Regions from separate parts of the Homo sapiens genome. Here regions 2, 3, 4 and 5 are each linked to region 1. Evidence: promoter capture Hi-C in 16 types of primary human blood cells and fetal thymus (Javierre and others, 2016). All regions are on one chromosome and are shown on one strand. Each heading gives the region's core, a stretch centred on a gene start or on the middle of the fragment in contact. The rest is flanking DNA. Distances are from core to core; before and after follow the strand shown.

Region 1 (2,712 bases), core at 61-2,560:
ACCCTGCAATGATTTGTTGACAAACTTGTTCTCCTTTCCTGCCCCAGCAGACTGGGGACAGAGTAAGTCTAAGCCCTCATTCATCCAACACTCTTCAGGGAGGCTGGAATCTGGGCTCTCCTTCTCTCCCTGCTCTCAGTGCTCTCACCTGTATTCTAGGATCCAGTTCTTCCTCCTCTCTTGGGGACAATTTGGCCTCACTGCTGCTGCTTCCACCTCCTCCAGGCTCTTCTGCGACTGGGCTCCTAGGGACTTCATCCTCTACAACTTCAGGCCGCAGCTCCCCCTGTGGGGTCTCCCGCCCTCCTGGAACCTGTCTGAGCTCAGCCATGCTGACAGGGGGAGGGCAGAGCCCTATGCACAAGAGAGGACTGACATGCTGGGACCAGGGCCCCAGCTTGGGGCTTCCTGGGCTCTAGATGGCCAGGAGAAGAGTTTCTCTTCTCAAAAGGCAGAAAAGGTGGGCACAGGAAGAACCTCACACTAGGTTAGAGGTTGAGATTCAAGTTGTCAGTGGGGTTCCTAGAGCTGAAGCCTTGTCTGTGCAAAAGTTCTTCCCTTCCCGCCACAGGGAGTCCACTGTGACAAACCCGGAGCAACAGCTCCAAGGCAGGGGGCAAAGGGGGCTTGGATCCTGGACCGAGGCCTGCTAGGAGGAGCACCATTCGGGAGGGTGGAGGCAGGCGCCTCCAGGCTGTGGTGGCAGCTGGAGAGAGAAGGCTGGGCCCGAGCTGAGGCTGTAGGATGAGCGTCTCTGGGGAGCTGCAGAGAAACAAAGGCCAAGTATATGGTCATGTCAGCATCAAAACCGCAGCCACCAGCCCCTTCCAACTCTACAGCCTCCCAAAAACTACACTCTCACCACGCCCCCACCCATGTATTCCGACCAGTCCCTACCTCAACTTCTCTCCTTAGCCCTCAAGGACTTTAGATTCTACTCTTCCCCCGTCCCAGCTCCTCTCGACCCAGGCCCTCCTCAACCAGCGCCTTCGAGACTTTCCTCTGCACCCCTAGGCTCTCCTCCATCTCCTGTGGTCTCCCGCTCGTCCCACTCCACCCCAGCCCGGCTTTGCGATTCACCTTGTAACCCCGAGCCCCACCCCACCTTCTCTGTCCAACCCGAGACATCTAAGCCTCCCGTCTCCAATTCCACACTCTTCCGCAATCCCAAGGACCCTACTCCCGTCCATTCTACCCAGCCATGCGCAAAAGCCCCCCGCACAGCCTTACCTCAGTTTACCTTCCCGTCCGCGGAGCTTCTATGCTGCAAACAATCTCCCCCCCTCCCTCCCCGCAACAAGCCGATCCAACCAAAAACGACCAGGCAGACCAGAAGCGGAAATACATCATCGGTGAACAACGCTCTCCCTCCCACGCTCTCTCTCAAGCCGGGCCTCCTCGGGAGGCCTCACACTCCCCCGCCCTGCCTTCAGTTTCCGTACAAAATGGTGCCCCACGTTGCTCAGGCTAGCCGTAGGTTGCCTCCAGACCATACTCCACCAAGGCTGAATGAAAGAAAAACATGAGAATGTGGTGCTGAAGAAAATTAGGGCGCGGGACGGAAATCGAGAGTAACTGGTGAGAAGAGGAATACTAGATATAAAACGGAGATAATAGCCTCAGAGTGAGTAGTGCCATCTTGCTTTACGGAGCTGCGGCGGCGGCTGCCGGAAAGCCACTTCCGGCCTGCTCCACGGAGGCGGGCGCGACGCCGAAAGTGAGCTGGTAAACTTCCGGCAGTGGCTCCGGGGGCAACTCGAGTCCGGACGCTGGCGGGCTTCGCGGGCGAAGGCAAAGTCGATTTCCAAAAGTGACTTTCCTCACTCCCGTGAAGTCGGCGGAACCCTCCACTAACGGCGTCTGAGCGGACGGCTCCGATGTGTAAATCCCACTCCTCGAGGCCTCTGGACCTTGCACCTTGAACGACGTTTTGGTGGGGTCACCAATTGCTCCGTGAATACTAACCAGGAACTTAGTCAACATTAACTCAGTTAATTCACTCGTGCACCCAGGGTCAGATGCCCTCGATGAGCAGGAGTTTGTTACATGGCATTGTGTATCGTTACCTAGGTCCCTGAGCGAGCGCCTGCTTGTCACCTCTAGGTGTCGCTTGGTGAGGGGAGGGCCTAGGCCTAAGGGGAAGGGCTTCATTCAGGGTTGGATGTTTTGTTTTTACAAAAGGCGTAACTTCCTCAGAGTCAACTCAAAACTTTGCCCTGCAGATGGAAAAGGCAAATGGGCTGAATTCCCCTCCTTTTTGGATCCTGTCAAAGACAACCCAGCTAGACATTGAAGCAGTGAAAAAGACTTTTTTCAGTAACTACTTACAGAAAGGAAAAGAACTGACCTCTGTTCCGATTTGTACAGAAGTGACTGGGCATTTCAAAGGGAGAATGAAGGAAGGAAGGTGATCAGGGCTCAATAGTGTTGGAGAAGTGAAAAATTACAGATTTGATTGGCATAGATGCGATTCGGCCAGATGTGTCTGCTAGCTAGCAGCTATAGAAGTTAGAGTGCTTTTTTATGTATTTATTTATTTTGAGACGGAGTTTAACTCTTGTTGCCCAGGCTGGAGTGCAATGGCGCGATCTTGGCTCACTGCAACCTCCGCCCCACCCCCACCCCCGAGTACAAGAGATTCTCCTGCCTCAGCCTCCCGAGTAGCTGGGATTACAGGTGCATGCCAACACATCTGGCTAATTTTTCTATTTT
Region 2 (2,712 bases), core at 129-2,628, 970 kb before region 1:
AGTCAGCGGCTGCTAGTCTTGAGGGCTGTGCTTTTATTTTTGGCATTGTGAATTTGCCAACCCAATAGTCCTATAGACACACACACACACACACACACACACACACACACAGAGAGAGAGAGAGAGAGAGAGAGAGAGAGAGAGAGAGAGAATTTGACCCTTCTGGTCTTAGAGCTTGAAACTTACTTTTGTTTTATCTGAGTTCCTTCCTCAGGAAAGGACCACCAGCCCTCTTGAAAAGTAAAGTAACAAAGAACTGAAACTTACCGGATCACCCCAGGTCATCTCAACCAGTTAATGAGATGCCAGTCCAGTCCGCTTATTCAACATGATTGCTTCCTTACCCCTCCCTAGTTCCTCTTTTTCCACACAGTGTGCTATTTCTTCCCTGCCTCTATATAAGCCTCTAATTTTAGTCAGTCAGGGAGATGGATTTGAAACTGAGCTCCTATCTCCTCTGCTGCAGCACCTGATTAAAAGCTTCTTCTTTGGCAATAATCGTTGTCTCAGTGATTGGCTTTCTGTGTGGAGAGCAGCAGGACCTAGACCGAACTCCTGGTTTTTGGTAACAAATTGGGCTGATTTGGGGGCTATGGAGCTAGGAGATTGTGAATCCCCAAAGCTGAGGCAAAGGGTTTGGCCATGGAGAGCTGAGAAACTCTGTGAAAAGGGTTCAAAGTAGGGAAGAAAATATTGCTGTCCTGAAGAAATGGTTTCAGGAGCCCAAAGCCATGATACCAAAGAAATTACAAAAAAGAGCAGGGAGGAATAATGGTCAGATGACGGCAGATCCCATATTTTAAAGATGTCACAGAAGGCAGGACACAACTGAAGAGGAATATTAGAGAAGGAGGATGGTTGCAGGTGGTATTAGCTAAAAGATTTGCAACTCTGCAACCTGTAAATGAGTCACAGGGTGGAGTTAGCCTATAAATTAAGGAGTGGGGTGCATTAGAATTTGGTCGTATTGGCATAAACCAAGAGGTGCTTTATTTACGCCAAAAGAAAGCTCATGAGAAAATACAAATTTAAGTTAGAGTATTCCCATTAAACCAGAAACTGCCTGGCGAGGCACTCCACATAGCATTTGTAAATACAATGACATCTGGATATAATCCAGTCCACAACTTACCTGCATGGACGTGCTGTAAGGGAAATGTGTGTTTCTAAGAACAATGGTACCGATGTCATTCCTAGTCAACCAGTGTCAGAGACAAAACAGTTTAAGCTCAGCAACTCTAGGACCAGCAGGGGAAGAAGTGAGCTCGCCCACTCCGTCACACCCTACTGAAAACCACAGTGACCCCCAACGTCAGAAGCCAGGGGCCTTTCCTTAGGATCACAGGCACTAGGAAATCTGAATTTAAGTGAGCCTAGTTATCAACTGGCCCATATATTTGAGTAAATGGATTGTTTTACTGTGTCTCGTTATGCCTGCAAAATAGAAAAATGCTCCAGCATCTGCCAGAGTTATGGAGAGCCAGGGCAAGATCATATATGTAAAATGCAGAAAAACATGGATTTGACATTTGACATAATATAATCATCTTTGAACTTCCCTCTTTCATTAGCTCCTATGATAAACTGTCCTAATTCTGTTCATTTACTTATTAACTTGTTTAATCAGTTAGTATGTGTGGAGTGTCCATTTGTGCCAGTTACTCTTCAAGGTCCTGGGGATAGATAGAGCAGTGAACAAAATAGAAAAAAATCTCTCTTCCTAATGTAGCTTACCTTTTGACTCACCATCCTTCCATTCACTTCACTATTTCATTTCCTTTTCTTCAATTAAATATATTTGCTACATGGCCGGGCGAGGTGGCTCACACTTGTAATCCCAGCACTTTGGGAGGCCAAGGTGGGGAGATTGTTTGAACCCAGGAGTTTGAGACCAGCCTGGGCAACAGGGCGAAACTCTGTCTCTACAAAAAATACAAAAATTAGCTGGGCGTGGTGGCGGGCACCTGTAGTCGCAGGTACTTGGGAGGCTGAGGTGAGAAGATCACTTGAGCCTGAAAGGTAGAGGCTACAGTGAGTCAGGTTGTGGCACTACACTATAGCCTGGGCAGCAGAGCAAGACCCTGTCTCAATATATATACGTGTGTGTGTGTGTGTGTGTGTGTGTGTGTGTGTATTTCCAACATGCCAGGACCTATATTAAGTGTCTACTATCTATTAGCTCGTTTAATACTCTGAAAGGCCTTATATGAATGACACTAACACCTCTTCACTGCACGTCAGAAGAAATGCAGGGCAGAAACGCGGCACAGCTTGCCTCAAGCTTCTCAGCAAGTGCCACAGCCCTTAGTCCGGAGCCAGAGTCTGTTTTTCTTTGCTAAGCCTTCTGCTCTTTAGCTTTTTTCTCTAATGCCACATCTTTCGTGTTTTGCTAATACAGATCCATGTGTGTTCTCCAAGAATCTATTCGCTTTAATTGCGCACTTAACCTTTAGGCCTCAAGATCCTCTGCTCTGCCTGTCGCCAGAGATCCAGCCCAAGAGTTTGTCCTTATAATGAAGACCCACAAACCCCAGAGGATCCCCAAGGACCTGAGTCATCTGGCCCCGCCTCTTGCTGCAGCCTTATCTGCTGCCACCATATTCTGGCCCAGCTTGCCAGCCTGCCTGGCTTCTCACTGTCATCTGGGTATGTCTTGCTCCCACCTGCTGAAGTTTACCTTGTACCTTTCATGGCTTCTGGGGGCACGGCCTT
Region 3 (2,712 bases), core at 160-2,659, 910 kb before region 1:
ACTTCCAACACTATGTTGAATAGGAGTAGTGAGAGAGGGCATCCCTGTCTTGTGCCAGTTTTCAAAGGGAATGCTTCCAGTTTTTGCCCATTCAGTATGATATTGGCTGTGGGTTTGTCATAGATAGCTCTTATTATTTTGAGATACGTCCCATCAATACCTAATTTATTGAGAGTTTTTAGCATGAAGGATTGTTGAATTTCGTCAAAGGCCTTTTCTGCATCTATTGAGATAATCACCTTTCTCTCCTCCCCTGGATATTATGAATCACATCACAAGGAGGTGTACCCCCTAATGATATGGGGAGTAATATCATGTCTCTCCCACTGGATATTATGAACCATATCACAGGGAGGTGGACACCCCCGCAATATGGGGAGTAATATAATTCTTCTTCCCTCTCTAGATATTACAATCTATATCACAGGGGTGTGTACGCCCCCACGATATAAGGAGAAATATCACCTTTCTCTCCCTCACTGGATATTATGAAACATATCACAGTAGGTGATGAGGAAAGAGGATGATATTACCTCCAATATTGTGGGGAGTGTACATACCCCCTTGTGATATTGTTTCTAATATCCAGGGAAAGAGGATTATATTACTCTCAATATTGCAGGGGGCTGTACAACCACCCTCTGATATTTTCCTAACATCCGGCGGGGGGGCGGGGGGCGGAAGACGATGATATCCAGAGGGGGAGATGATGATATTACTCTTAATATCGCAAGGGGTGTACACCCCCCTGTGATATTGTTTGTAATATCCAAGGTGGGGAGACGATGACATTAGTCCTGATATCACAGGGGGTGTACACCCTCCTGTGATAGTGTTGGTAATATTAAGGGTGGGAGAGTATAATATTATTTGCAATATTGCAGGGGATATACACCCCCCTGTGATATTGTCCGTAATATACAGAAGGAAAGAGGATGATATTATTCCCAATATCCCAGGGAGTGTACACCTTCATTTAATGTTGTTCTTAATATCCAGGGTAGGAGAAGATGACATTACTCTTAATATCAGGGGCTGTACACCCCCCTCTGACATTGTTCGTAATATTCATGGAGAAAGAGGATGATATTACTCCCAATATCCTGAACACCCCATGTGTACACCACCCTCTTGTATCGTTCGTAATATCCAGCAGGGGAGAGGTTGGTATTACTCTCAGTATCGCAGAAGGTGTATGCCCTGCTGTGATATTGTTTGTAATATTCAGGGAAAGAGAGGATGATACTACTTCCAGTCTCGCGGAGCATGTACACCCCCTGTGATATTGTACCTAATATCCAAAGAATGAGAGGATATTATTCCTAGTATCACAGGCTGTGTACATTCCTCCTGTGATATTGTTTTTAATATCCAGGGGGCGAGAGGATGATATTACCCCAATATTGCAGAAGGGTATACACACCCCGCGATATGGGGAGTAATATCACCCTTCTCTCCCCCCTGGATATTACAAACAATATTTATTGGGATATTGTTTCTAATATCCAGGCGAAAAAACAATAATACTTCCAATATTGCAGGGGGTGTACACCGCTCCTATGACAGTATTCCTAATATCCACGGGGGGAGAGGATGATATTATTGCCAATATCGCAGGAGCTGTACACTCCCCCTCTTATATTGTTCCTTATAACCGGGGGGGACGGGATGATATTAGTCCCAATGTCGCAGAGGGTGTACACCGCCTCTGTAATATCCACGGGGGAAAAGGATGATACAATTCCCACTATCGAAGGGGGTGTACCCCCCTGTTGTATTGTTCCTGATATCCAGGGCGTGAGGAAATGATATCACTCTTAATATCGCAGGGTGTGTACACCCTCACGTTGATAATGTTCGCAATATCCAGGGGAAGGGAGGATAATATTATTCCCAATATTGCAGGGGCTGTACGTCTCCCCTGTGATGATGTTCCTAATATCCAGGAGGGTAGAGGATGATATTACTGTAATATCGCAAAAGGTGTACAACCCCTCTGTGATATTGTTTCTAATATCCAGATGGAAAGGGGATGATATTACAACACCCTGTGATATTATTTCTTTTTCTTTCTTCTTTTTTTTTTGACAGAGTCTCACTCTGTGGCCCAGGCTGGAGTGCAGTGGTGCGATCTGGGCTCACTGCAAGCTCCGCCTCCCGGGTTCACGCCATTCTCCTGCCTCAACCTCCCAATTAGCTGGGACTGCAGGTGCCCACCACCGCGCCCAGCTAATTTTTTGTATTTTTTTTTAGTAGAGACGGGGTTTCACCCTGTTAGCCAGGATGGTCTGTATCTCCTGACTTCGTGATCTGCCCGCCTCGGCCTCCCAAAGTGCTGGGATTACAGGCGTGAGCCACTGCACCCGGCCAAAGAATACATTTTAAATTAGAAGAAATCATGTAAGTGCTATTCTTGAAGTTTCTTATTTTAATTTGTGATTTAATTAATTCAGTCTCATAAATAAACTCAATGAGGAAGGAAGAATGTGGAACTGACAATGTAAGTTGCTTACATAAATCGCCTCATATGGCTTCAGACTGAGTCTCTAAATTGAGAAGATCTTAATGCGTGACAATTAGCTACATGGTAGAGAAGAAACTACTCAATGAAAATTTATTTCTATTTCTTGAGCCAAAATTTGAATGATTGTCCTTATTTATGGTAGCCCAGTAGAAAGATTCCAAGGGTTTCTTTCCTTTCTTTGTTTTTCT
Region 4 (2,712 bases), core at 73-2,572, 900 kb before region 1:
TTTTTCTGACAGCATTAAGTGCATAATAAGAGAGAATTCAGTTCTATCATCAGTAACAGAGACCTGGTCAGTAGGGACTTCAACATTAAACAAGGATTTAAAAAGTTAATTGATGCACAATTCTTGTACAAATTTATGGGGTACAGAGTGATATTTGGATACATACAAAGTTTAATGATCAAATCAGGGTTATTAGCATATTAATCACCTTAAACATTTAGGGGGTGTGTGTGTGTGTGTGTGTGTTGGGAACATTGAAAATCCTTTCTTCTAGCTATTTGAAAAGATAGAAAAAATTATCATTAACGATAATCATCCTAGAGTGCTATAGAACACTAGAACTTATTCTTCCAACATAGTTATAAATTTGTACTCATTGAGCAACTTCTCTCTCTTCTCTTAGGCCCTCGTGTTTCCCAGCCTCGAGTAAATACCATTCTACTCTCTACCTCTATGAGATCAGGTTTTTTAACCTTCTGTATATGAATGAGAACATGTAGTATACATCCTTCTGTGCCCTGGTTTATTGAACTCAACATAATGTCATCCAGGCTCATCCATGTTGCCACCAACTACAAGATTTTATTCTTTTTATGACTGAATAGTATTCCATTGTGTATACATACCACATTTTCTTTAACTATTCATTGGTTGATGAACATGTAGTTGATTCCATATCTTGGATATTGTGAACAGTGTGGCACTAAACATTGAGGTACAGATGTCCCTTCAATAGGCTAATTTCCTTTCCTTTGGATATATGCCCAGTAGTTGAATTGCTGGATCATATGATAGATCTATATTTTTAGTTTCATAGTGTTCTTTATAATAGCTATACTAATTTACATTCCCATCAACACTGTATAAGATGTCTCTTTCTCTACATCCTCACCAGCATTTGTTATTTTTTGTCTTTTTTGATAATGACCACTCTAATTGCAGTGAAATTATATGTCATTTTGGTTTTGATTTATATTTCCCTTATGATTAGTGATGTTGAACATTTTTTCAAATATTTGGCTATTTTTATGTCTTCTTCTGAGAAATGGGTATTTAGATCATTTACCTATTTTCAATTGGATTATGGGGTTTTATTTGCTATTGAGTTCCTCGCATATACTATATATTAATCTTTTGTCAGAAGAATAATTTGCAAATATTTTCTTCAATTTTGCAGGGTGTTTTTTCATTGAGATGAATGTTTTCTTTTCTGTGCAGAAGGTGTTTAGTTTAATGTAGCCCCATTTGTGTGTTTCTATCTTGTTGCCTGTGCCCTTGAAGTCTTAGAGATAAAATCTTTTCTGAGACCGATGTTGAAGCATTTCCCTTAAAACAAGCATCATTTTTAATTTCTTCATAAGAAGCAAGTGTTGATTTTGGCCAATCAGGGCAGCTTTTGTGATTGGTGATCAACAGGAAATTGCCTGGTAGCAGACAGTCTTCGGCTCCTTAATCCCTTGAGTTTTGTCCCTATGAAATGGTTACAGGAACATTTCAGGAACATACATCATCATATCCATATGCTAAAGAAACAGGATGGGCCGGGCGCGGTGCCTCACGCCTGTAATCCCAGCACTTTGGGAGGCCGAGGCGGGCGGATCACGAGGTCAGGAGATCGAGACCATCCTGGCTAACACGGTGAAATCCCGTCTCTACTAAAAATAAAAAAAATTATCCGGGCGTGGTCGTGGGCGCCTGTAGTCCCAGCTCCTTGGGAGACAGTAATTATAGGAATCCCTTAAATCAGGTGGCAGTAACAAGGAGAAGACATGTGGTCACTCACTCCGTAATGATTGTATGGAATTGAAAAGTTAGAAGGGCCAAAAAAAATGGTGAATTAAAACATCAAATGGCTGGCATAAAATGAGATTGTAAGCAGCTCAGATTATTTGATTTCAAAGTCTTCATTTGCTCTTTCACACTCATTTTCATGTGCGCATGTGGGTGAGGAAGCCGACCTAAACATTCTCATTCAGTGTGGTGAGTTTCTTTCTCCCTAGCTTAATGAGTCAATTTTCTGGACAGTGAGTACAAAATATACTTCTGATTCACGCATTATATTGTACTTTGCTTTACATAGCTACATTCTATCATATCCTGAATCTCTCTTCTTTCATTCCTTTCCTTCCTGCCCCTCTTTTCCTCTCCCTAGCTATCTCATTTTCTCCCTCCCCTGGTATATAACCCCTTACATGTGTATTTAAGAAACAAAAAAGAGTAAGAATATAGTAATTATAGGAATACTAATATAGTAATAATAGTAGTAGCAATAATAATCATCCTGAGTATTGACTGTGTGCCAGGCTCTATTCCCCCCCTTCACTCGGTGTGTGTGTGTGTGTGTGTGTGTGTGTGTGTTTGCAGTGGGGGTATTTAATGAGTCTCATCTAATATTCAAAACAACTTTATCAGGCAGGTACTGTCATGATCTTCATTTCATAGAAATTCATTTCAGACATAATTTAATGGATATTTCAGATATAATTTCATATCTGGTGTTTCATGTAAGACAAAAAAATGAAATATTTTTGGGATATTGCATTTCCATTAAATTTTCCTGTTTATCTCTTCAAAGCAGTAGGGTATTGATGATATTGTTATTTTCTTAATAAAATGTTTGAGTCAATAGCATACGAATTCCTGGGCTAGGTAACATCCATTATATTTCTATTATATCCATGTCTGCTCTAGATAAAGTAATAGTTAAATTTC
Region 5 (2,712 bases), core at 121-2,620, 580 kb before region 1:
TTTTGGATGTATGCCTAGCAGTAGAATTGCTGAATCATGTGGTAACTCTGTTTTTAGTTTTTTGAGGAACCTCCAAACTGTCCTTTATGGTGGTTGTACTAATTCACATTCCCACTAGCAGTGTAGGAGGGCTCCCTTTTCTCCACATTCTGGCATAATTTGGTATTGCCTTTCTTTTATATGAAAGTCATTTTGCCTGGGGTGAGATGATATCTCACTGTAGTTTTAATTTACACATTTCTTATGATCAACATGTTGAGCACCTTTTCATATACCTGTTTGCCATTTGTATGTCTTCTTTTGAGAAATGTCTATTCAACTCTCACCCATTTTTAAATTGGATTAATACATTTTTTCCTATAGAGTTGTTTGAGCTCCTTATATATTCTGGTTATTAATCCCTTGTCAGATGAGTAGTTTGAAAATTTTTTCTTTCATTCTGTGGGTTTTCTCTTCACTTTATTGTTTCCTATGCTATGCAGAAGCTTTTTAAATTGATGTGATCTTATTTGTCCATTTTTGCTTCAGTTGCCTGTGCTTGTTGTGTATTTTTACATTTCAAATTATTGTGAGCCTTGGGAGTAATATCTTATCTCCCATTATTTAAAATTCATGACCAACGTAACCCTGATTTCACAATCAAACAAGAAGCAAGCAAAAAGGAACTTAAAAAAAAACCCTCTACACTTTAACTTCATACCTTCACTTTGTAACTTTTTGTTGTTTCAGTTTATATCTTATTGTACTGTCTATGTCTTACAAAGTTGTTGTAGATATCATTTTTGATTGGTTCATCTTTTCATCTTTCTACTTAAGATATGAGTAGTTTACACACCACAATTACAGTATTGTAATAGTCTGTCTTTTCCTGTGTACTTACCATTACCAGAGAGATTTGTACCTTCAGATGCTCATTAATACTTTTTTTCTCTCATGTTGAAGAACTCTCTCTAGCATTTCTTGTAAGACAGGTCTGGTGTTGATGAAATCCCTCAGCTTTTCTTTATCTGGAAAAGTCTATATTTATAAAGAATTAATACAGAGAAGGAAAGGAAGTTAATAAAGCGTGTTTTATTGAGTAAGCTACTACAGAGGGCAAATCCAACCTAATCCTGTGGCTCACTTCTGAGAAAGTATATAAAATGCACACCCTTGAGAATCATTCTTGCCTGTGAGAGAGGAGACAGAACTTGATTTTCACCAGGGTTGTTCGGGGGCTTCTCTGCTGGCGATTTTTATTCTCTGGCACTTCTAGTCTGTGTACACATAGACAGAGTGACCTTCTATGGAGATTGAAGGAATGTGGTTGCTGCTCAGAGTGCCGGCTGGAAATTCATGTGTAATTAGAAACCTCAACTGGCAACATGCGGCGTTTTTTTTGTGTGTGGGTGTCTTCATCCAAATAAGTCAATTGTAAGACATGAGATTATTGAGATTATTAAGAAATGTGCTTACAGATGTCCTATTAGATGACATTGTGGAAATACTGTTAATTGTATTTGTGTGATAAGGTATTGTGGTTAAGTACAAAGGAAGAAACTATGAATTCAAGATTAGGTATAATGAAGAAGTGATAAGATGTCTAAACAAATGGCCAGGCACGGTGATTCACGCCTGTAATCCCAACACTTTGGGAGGCCAAGGCAGGCAGATCACAATGTCAGGAGTTCAAGACCAGCCGGACCAACAAGGTGAAACCCATCTCTACTAAAAATACAAAAATTAGCCAGACATGGTGGCACACACCTATAATCAGCTACTCAGGACGCTGAGGCAGGAGAATCGCTTGAACCCGGGAGGCAGAGGTTGCAGTGAGCTGAGATCGTACCACTGCACTGGGAAACAGAGCAGGACTCCATCTCAAAACAAAACAAAACTCCACAAACATTAAATGCATTTAGATTTGTTGGGTGGATAAATATGAAACAAGATTTTTTTGATCCTTGGTAGTTCCTTAATTTTTTTTTCTTTGATGTGGTGCTCTATTTTTCAAAAATTAAAAATTTTTAAAAGAAATATGGGTATTTCAGCAAAAGAAAAAAAGGGAGTGACAGAGGGAGGAAGGGAGGAAGAAACGGAGGAAAAAGAGAAACACTCCCCGAGATGCTTTCTTGCACATTATATTTTTCACTGTGGCTGTTCAATGGAGATGTCCCGAGGAAACCCAGGCAGGGACTCTGTCTTCCTAGGTCCCTGAAGCTGCACCAACAAGCAGTACATGTCCACACTTCCAACACTGCTACAAAAACAAGAAGTAAGCTTCATTTGGATGTAAGACATTATACATTATTGTGACTAATTTTTATTACAATTAATCGGCCTCAAATAATACCACTTTTTGAACAAATGTAAATCTACTTAATTTTAATAAAATTATTGAGAAAATATTACTTATAGGGAGATATATTAAATTTAGTTCCTACTGAACAATGTACAAAAATCAACCTCAACTGTATTAAAAACACATATTGAAAACACAACAAATATTTGTTTTAAATTATAGGCAAATGTTCCCGAGCAGACATCAATTTCTTAAGCAAGTCATATAAAGTAATAACTATAAATACAATCATTGACAAATTTGACCAAGTTAAAAATTTTAAACTTTGTCCATTGATAGATACCTCAAATAGGTGGAAATTCTAGTTATGCACTAAGATGAAACAGTATACTAAATAAATATACACCTATATTTAATAATATTATTTGATT

Evidence for each region. Contacts are between HindIII fragments. The CHiCAGO score rates a contact against its expected background, and 5 or more counts as called.
Region 2: a contact is called between a fragment that was not itself captured here and the fragment with the promoter of SH3BP5L in region 1, in 1 of 17 cell types (megakaryocytes). The highest score is 5.6, in megakaryocytes.
Region 3: a contact is called between a fragment that was not itself captured here and the fragment with the promoter of SH3BP5L in region 1, in 2 of 17 cell types (megakaryocytes and erythroblasts). The highest score is 7.1, in megakaryocytes.
Region 4: a fragment that was not itself captured here is called in contact with the fragment with the promoter of SH3BP5L in region 1 in 1 of 17 cell types (megakaryocytes); the score reaches 7.1 in megakaryocytes.
Region 5: a contact is called between a fragment that was not itself captured here and the fragment with the promoter of SH3BP5L in region 1, in 1 of 17 cell types (monocytes). The highest score is 9.0, in monocytes.

What each region holds. Positions count from the first base shown.
Region 1 is chr1:248,824,605-248,827,316 of GRCh38, forward strand. It overlaps SH3BP5L (SH3 binding domain protein 5 like), which reads right to left and starts at 1,311. Exons shown (of 7, transcript NM_030645.3): 1 at 1,231-1,311; 2 at 149-762. The coding sequence starts at 331. MIR3124 (microRNA 3124) reads left to right here and starts at 1,773; the gene lies at 1,773-1,839. RefSeq lists enhancers at 983-1,042, 1,105-1,656, 1,413-1,672, 1,657-2,207, 1,783-1,832 and 1 more. The HindIII fragment of the contact is 10,505 bases long and covers 1-2,712 here.
Region 2 is chr1:247,852,809-247,855,520 of GRCh38, forward strand. No RefSeq gene overlaps it. Among named protein-coding and RNA genes, the nearest start is that of TRIM58, 3.0 kb to the right of the region's middle. RefSeq lists a cis regulatory region at 2,292-2,712. The HindIII fragment of the contact is 1,801 bases long and covers 479-2,279 here.
Region 3 is chr1:247,909,891-247,912,602 of GRCh38, forward strand. No RefSeq gene overlaps it. Among named protein-coding and RNA genes, the nearest start is that of OR2T8, 9.0 kb to the right of the region's middle. The HindIII fragment of the contact is 6,306 bases long and covers 1-2,712 here.
Region 4 is chr1:247,927,274-247,929,985 of GRCh38, forward strand. The region is part of intron 1 of OR2AJ1 (olfactory receptor family 2 subfamily AJ member 1); the gene reads left to right. Among named protein-coding and RNA genes, the nearest start is that of OR2AJ1, 3.7 kb to the left of the region's middle. The HindIII fragment of the contact is 3,035 bases long and covers 1-2,712 here.
Region 5 is chr1:248,246,431-248,249,142 of GRCh38, forward strand. No RefSeq gene overlaps it. Among named protein-coding and RNA genes, the nearest start is that of OR2M4, 16 kb to the left of the region's middle. The HindIII fragment of the contact is 1,774 bases long and covers 484-2,257 here.